Linked DNA regions of Homo sapiens: region 2 is linked to region 1. Evidence: promoter capture Hi-C in human tissues and cell types (Jung and others, 2019). All regions are on one chromosome and are shown on one strand. Each heading gives the region's core, a stretch centred on a gene start or on the middle of the fragment in contact. The rest is flanking DNA. Distances are from core to core; before and after follow the strand shown. Region 1 holds the start of KLHL30 (kelch like family member 30). Region 2 overlaps ILKAP (ILK associated serine/threonine phosphatase).

Region 1 (3,159 bases), core at 40-2,539:
TTTCGCGTCACCACGCCCGCATGGTTGAAGTCAGCAAGGCCGCTTTCAGGCTCATGTAATTATGTGCATGTGGTTTATGTCCTTCTGGTATCGCACCCTAAGACAACCATCCCTAGGAGAGATCAAGTCTGTGCACAAGCCTTCGACCCGGGTCACCCCAGGGCGAAAGGCTGCGCAGCGGAGAGGCCGTTCGCCCGCTAGGGGGCGCCTCGCGGGGCCATCCCGGGCAGGAGAGGCGGCCGCGCGTCCACAGGTACAAAATGCGTGGGAACGCCACGCATGGAAATGACAAAGCTCAGCTGGAGAACCAGGAGGCCAAGAATCTGGCCCGGGCAGCCACGGTGCAGGTACAGGTGCAGGCGATGGGAGCTAGGGCTCCCCGACTTCCCGACCCCGGTGCCACCTCTTGACCCCAGAGCGGGGAAGCACCTGGGAGCCCACAGGGCCTCGCGGACCAACCCGGGCTCGCGCACAGGGCAGCTCACGTGGCCGGGGCCCCACACCCCAGCATCCCGGCCGGTACACGAAGTACCCACCCAACACTGCATGCATGGGGTTCCTGCCTGGCCCCTCCCCAGGAGGCGCTGGCCCCGGTGAAGGCGGCTCTGCCCTCCCTGGGCAGCCGGGAGATGAGCTGGGGCCTGAGTAGGTGACAGGGCTGTCCCTGGGCCACCGCCTGCAGGCCTCACATTCCCGTCATTGTTGTGCTCCCTTGGGCCAGCTGCTGCCGGGCGATGGGCAGGCACGCATGAGCGCCCCCACTTCCCCTGGGGGCCTCGGGGTGCCTGCTGACACCTGTCACCCTGCAGTCCCTGCATGGGTCGGGGCTTCCTGAGGGTCTCAGAGCCTCACCCCAGTGCCTGCCCAGGCCCGGAGTGAGGAAGCCGAGTGGGCAGGACAACAAAAGGCCTGAGCCCAGCCAGGCTGGCGACTGTGGCTGAGTGGCCCTGGCTGCCATCTGAGGGGTGGCCCAGCCTCCCCCTCCCACCTCTCCGGCTGGGACATGGAGGGAAACCTGTCTCCTGAGCCCCCACCCTGAGGAGCCTGGCTTGGCCGCTGGCAAGGGCCAGGGGGCGTCTCCAAAGCACCCTGCTGTGATCCCTGGCCTCGGGGGCCTAACCCACCCTCCCCGCTGCTCCTGGCTGGGTTCCCCCTGCCCTCTCTGCTGTCCCCTGCCCCAGAGCCCCCTGGATCCTACCTCTCACTCAGCCTGGACCTCGAAGCTGAGAACACAGACCCGAGAGAGCAGGACTGCCTAGCCGGCAGCCAGGGGACACGGAGGCCTGCAGGGCGGGGCAGGGCTGGTCTGGTGGCCACGTGGGGAGGGTATTTTTAGCCTCTGTCTGCAGGGCGAGGGGAGGGTCAGGCAGTGAGGGCTGGGCTGGTGGGGGAAGGAGTGAGATGCCGGCTCCTTGGTGACTGTTAGCTCAGAAAGCCCACTGAGGCCTTCCAGGGACTTGTGGCCTAGGACAGACATCAGGAAGGGCTCCAGGGCAAGGACAGGTGAAAGCTGTCGCGGTTGGGCTGGCTGGTGGGGGCAGGGATGCAGCTTCCCCACCTGTTTCCTCGTCTACAAGTTGAGTACAGTGGAGCCCGTGGTGGGGGCCTGGGGTCACAGAGACCCTCAGCCCAGGGCCAGGACACCGACAGGTGCTGCCCTCGCTGTTGATGTCAGCGGCACCTATGTGTCCTCTTGTTCTGTTGTCACGTGGGAAAACGTGATTATCATGAATAAGCACAGGTTGGTCAGCAGAGGCTTTCCGAGCTTGGGGTCCATGGTGGCGGTAGGGAAACTTTGCCCAGAGAGGGGAGGTGCCACACTCAGTTGCCCCGCCCAGCTAGCGTGGATAGGGGAGATCTTGGGGCTCCTTGCCCTGCTACCCCATGGCCTTGGCCTCGGGGCTGCCCAGGACGGCTAAGAAACAGGGTCACCTAAAAATACAGCAGTGGACTATCAGCCTCCCGTCCAGCACTTGGTTCACGGTAGTCGCAGGGGGAAGCTCTCACGCCTGGGACTGAAATGGGCTCAGAACCACAGGCCCTGACCAAGGTCAGGTGGGTTGAGTTGGGGACCCAAGAGGCCACTGGACATTTCTCACACCAGTGACCAGAGCAGAGCTTTGTGGCTGAGGGACTTCAGGTGCATGGGAGAGAAGCCCTCAGCCCTCAGCCCTCTACCCATCGGCCATGTGGGCCTGAGCAGTATGACCATTTCCAGGTGTGCTGCGACCTGGAGGAACTGGGGAGTATTGGGTCTGGCTGTGGCCTCTTGATGCTACTAGGGATTGTCCTAATGCTCTTACAGACCAGAGAGGTCCAGGCGGCCCCCAGGGAGACAGAACCCCACTCCTGGTCCTGAGATGCACACAGCCTATGGAGGGGAAGCTCACCTACAAATTACTGCCAAGTCTGCAAGGTGCCCTTAGGGTTACCTTCCATAGAGATTCCCTGAGTCCATGCTTCCTCTACAGCCCAGCCTGGCCCAGCCATAGCCCAGCCATAGCTCAGCCCAGCTCAGCTATTGCCCAACCATAGCCCAGCCATAGCCCAGCCCAGCTCAGCTATTGCCCAACCATAGCCCAGCCATAGCCCAGTCCAGCTCAGCTATTGCCCAACCATAGCCCAGCCATAGCCCAGTCCAGCTCAGCTATTGCCCAGCCATAGCCCAGCCATAGCCCAGCCCAGCTCAGCCATAGTCCAGCCGTAGCCCAGCCGTAGCCCAGCCCAGCCTGGCCCCTGCTCCTGCTCTTTCCCCTGCTCGTGTCCCACACTGTCCCAGGGTTTTTCCCCAGCCTTGGGCATCAGCCTCATGTTGTGTGGGGGACCCTCATGGAGGACCCCAACTCTCGCTGTGTCCAGGACCACTATGGGGTGGGCGCTAGAGTGTTGGGTTTCCGTACTGTCCCCCTTGTTTGCAGTCCTGGCTCGGGCTGGAGGAAATGAGGACAGGGGATTCTGATGACAGGCTGCTGTCACGGGGAGCTGGCTCTGCTCGGGGAACAGCACTGCTTGCCAAGTGTGGAGGCCTCACAGCAGCCGTCGTGGGGCTCGGAGCCCCAGCACCTCAGATGACAGGTCAGTCTGGGAAACTCAACACCGGGGGCGCAAAACAGATCCTCCATCAAGAGATTGCTACTGAGTGGCGCAGTTTTTAAAAAT
Region 2 (3,259 bases), core at 120-2,619, 54 kb before region 1:
ATTCAGGTAAGTGGTAGGAAAAATCCAAGGTGCTGATGGAAATAATACATAGTATTTTACTCTTATGTGAAATTTATGTATAGGTTTTAACGGGATTTTGGATGACATTAAGTCATAATACAGCATAAGGTTTACTAAAACTATAAACAGGCACATTAATTGGAAGCACAAAGATAATACTGTATCACTTTCTGGTGATATTAACTTCTTGAGGTTCAGATTGTTGGAACTGCCTTTAAGAATTAAGAGTTCACTAATTTACTCTTAACTTTGTTATTAACATTTTTTAAAAATTCAGAGTTCATTATTCCGATTTGCCTTGTTAAACAGAGTGCTTGACTCAAATGTATCGAGGCTAGTAGCATTGGCTCTACCTCCTCCTGAAAATGTTCCTTTTCATGTCCTAATTAAGTAGAAGGGAAGAATAGAGCAGATTCCTGTTGCCATTGCGGCAAAGGTATGATTCTGTCTCATGAGAACTTCTTAGGTAGAGCTCCTCTGGTTGGGGAAGGTGAGGGTTAGGAGAGGTTGGGAGATAGATGGTGTGGGGGCAGTGGGGAATGCAGGTAATCCCATTTCGTATGCAGGTATATTTTCTATATTTTAGGAAAAGTACTCCAGTCATCTTATATAAGAATTCTCAATCTTCAGGGCTGTAGACCCATACCAAAAAATTGCAGCATCCTCACACTCACAGTGTGGCCTGAAACCTTCCCAATAAAGATAGTACCCTTAGTTGTAATGAAAGTTAATATGTTCTGGCTGGGCGTGGTGGCTCACGCCTATAATCCCAGCACTTTGGGAAGCCAAGGCGGGTAGATCACTTGAGGTCAGGAGTTCAAGACCAGCCTGGCCAACATGGCGAAACCCTGTCTCTACTAAAAATACAAAAATTAGCCAGGCATGGTGGCATGTGCCTGTCGTCCCAGCTACTCAGGAGGCAGAGGCAGGAGAGTCGCTTGAACCCAGGAGGCAGAGGTTGCAGTGAGCTGAGATCACGCCATTGCACTCCAGCCTGGGTGACAGAGAAAGACTCTGTCTCCAAAAAAAAGGAAAGTTAATATGTTCAAAGAAGGCTGTTAAGGGATTTAATAGAAGAAATGAAGATACAGCATAGCTGTCTCTTATTTATCTACAGGACAAAAGGCAAAGTAGTAAAAAATTTAGAAGATTTACATAACACTATTAACAAGCTTAATTTTTTGGATATATAATCTTGGGTCTAGTGTTTTAGATTTCTAGAGAAGTTAACACATTTTTTTTTTCTTGAGACGGAGTCTCACACTCTCACCCAGGCTGGAGTGCAGTGGCACAATCTTGGCTCACTGCTACCTCCACCTCCCGGGTTTAAGCGATTCTCCTGCCTCAGCCTCCTGAGTAGTTGGGACTACAGGCGTGTGCCACCATGCCTGGCTAATTTTTGTATTTTTAGTAGAGACAGGGTTTTCCCATATTGGCCAGGCTGGTCTCGAACTCCTGACCTTGTGATCTGTCCGCCTCAGCCTCCCAAAGTGCTGAGATTACAGGCGTGAGCCACTGCACCCAGCCGATAACACATTCTTTTTTTTTTTTTCCTTTTTTGAGACTGTCTCTCTCTCTGTTGCCCAGGCTGGAGTGCAGTGGCGCGATCTCAGCTCAGTGCAAGCTCTGCCTCCCAGGTTCATGCCATTCTGCTGCCTCAGCCTCCCAAGTAGCTGGGACTACAGGCTCCCGCCACCACGCCCACCTAATTTTTTTGTATTTTTAGTAGAGATGGGGTTTCACCATGTTAGCCAGGATGGTTTCCATCTCCTGACTTCGTGATCCGCCTGCCTCGGCCTCCCAAAGTGCTGGGATGACAGGTGTGAGCGACCTTGCCCGGCCCGATAACACATTCTTAAGCGGGCAGGAACCATTTACAAAAGTTGATTATGTACTAAGCCATAAAATAAGCCTCAATGATCTGTTTCTTGTACAGACTACATTCTCAGACTACAGTGTAATTTGCTTAGAAGTCAATAACAAACCTGTAAGGTGTCTTTATTTTGAAATTTTATTATTTTTCTTTTTTTCTTTTTCTTTTTCTTTTTTTTTTTTTAAGACAGTCTCACTCTGTTGGCAGGCTGGAGTGCAGTGTTGCGATCTCAGCTCACTGCAACCTCTACTTCCCGGGTTCAAGTTCCTGTCTAAGCCTCCCGAGTAGCTGGGACTATAGGCACCTGCCACCACACCCAGCTAATTTTTTGTATTTTCAGTAGAGACGGGGTTTCACCATGTTGGCCAGGATGGTCTCAATCTCTTGACCTCATGATCCGCCTGCCTCTGCCTCCCAAAGTGCTGGGATTACAGGCATGAGCCGCTGCGCCTGGCCTTTTTCTTTTTCTTTTTTTTTTTTTTGAGATGGAGCCTTGCTCTGTTGCCTAGGCTGGAGCGCAGTGGCGAGATCTCAGCTCACTGCAGCCTCCGCCTCCTGGGTTCCAGTGAGTCTCGTGCCTCAGCCTCCCGAGTAGCTGGGATTACAGGCGCTACCATGCCCGGCTAATTTTTTGTATTTTAATTAGAGACCGGGTTTCGCCATGTTGGTCAGGCTTGTCTTGACCTTCTGACCTTAGATGATCTGCCCATCTCAGCCTCCCAAAGTGCTGGGATGACAGGTGTGAACCACCACACCTGGCCATCTGTTTTGGAATTTTAAAGGAAGAAAGTTTCACATCCATATGGGGAAAACTGGAACCCATACAGTAAGCCACAGGACACTAATGGGGACCTTTGGGAGAGATACTGTTGGAAACATCTGTGTTGCCTTATGCAGGGTGCATATGTGTATTATGTTATACTGTTGCAGAAATAGGGCCTTGTGCAACTAATTTACGCTTCTTGAGGGCAGGAACATTTTCATTACTTTTTCCTCAGCACTAAGAAATGTCTGACACAGGCGGTTCAAGACCAACCTACCCAACATGGTGAAACTCCGTCTCTACTAAAAATACAAAAATACAAAAATTAGCTGGGTGTGATGGTGCACTCCTGTAGGCTGAGACAGGAGAATTGCTTGAACCCTGGAGGTGGAGGTTGTAGTGAGCTGACGTTGCGTCACTGCACTCGAGCCTGGGCGACAGAGTAGACTCCGTCTCAAAAAAAAAAAAAAGACACCTTGTGTTTACCAAAAAAATTAAAAAATTAGCCGGGTGTAGTGGTTCCTGCTTTCAGTCCCAGCTGCTCAGGAGGCTGAGATGGAAGGATCACTTGAACACAGGAGTTGGAGGCTGCAGTAAACTGT

The links. The method cuts DNA at HindIII sites, captures the fragments that hold promoters and counts their contacts. A contact is called where the count stands out against the background at its distance.
Region 2: a fragment that was not itself captured here is called in contact with the fragment with the promoter of KLHL30 in region 1 in 1 of the 25 tissues and cell types used here (psoas muscle).

What each region holds. Positions count from the first base shown.
Region 1 is chr2:238,136,798-238,139,956 of GRCh38, reverse strand. It overlaps KLHL30 (kelch like family member 30), which reads right to left and starts at 1,289. Exons shown (of 8, transcript NM_198582.4): 1 at 1,199-1,289. The HindIII fragment of the contact is 32,785 bases long and covers 1-3,159 here.
Region 2 is chr2:238,191,022-238,194,280 of GRCh38, reverse strand. It overlaps ILKAP (ILK associated serine/threonine phosphatase), which reads left to right. Exons shown (of 12, transcript NM_030768.3): 3 at 1-6. Among named protein-coding and RNA genes, the nearest start is that of ILKAP, 11 kb to the left of the region's middle. The HindIII fragment of the contact is 3,908 bases long and covers 1-3,259 here.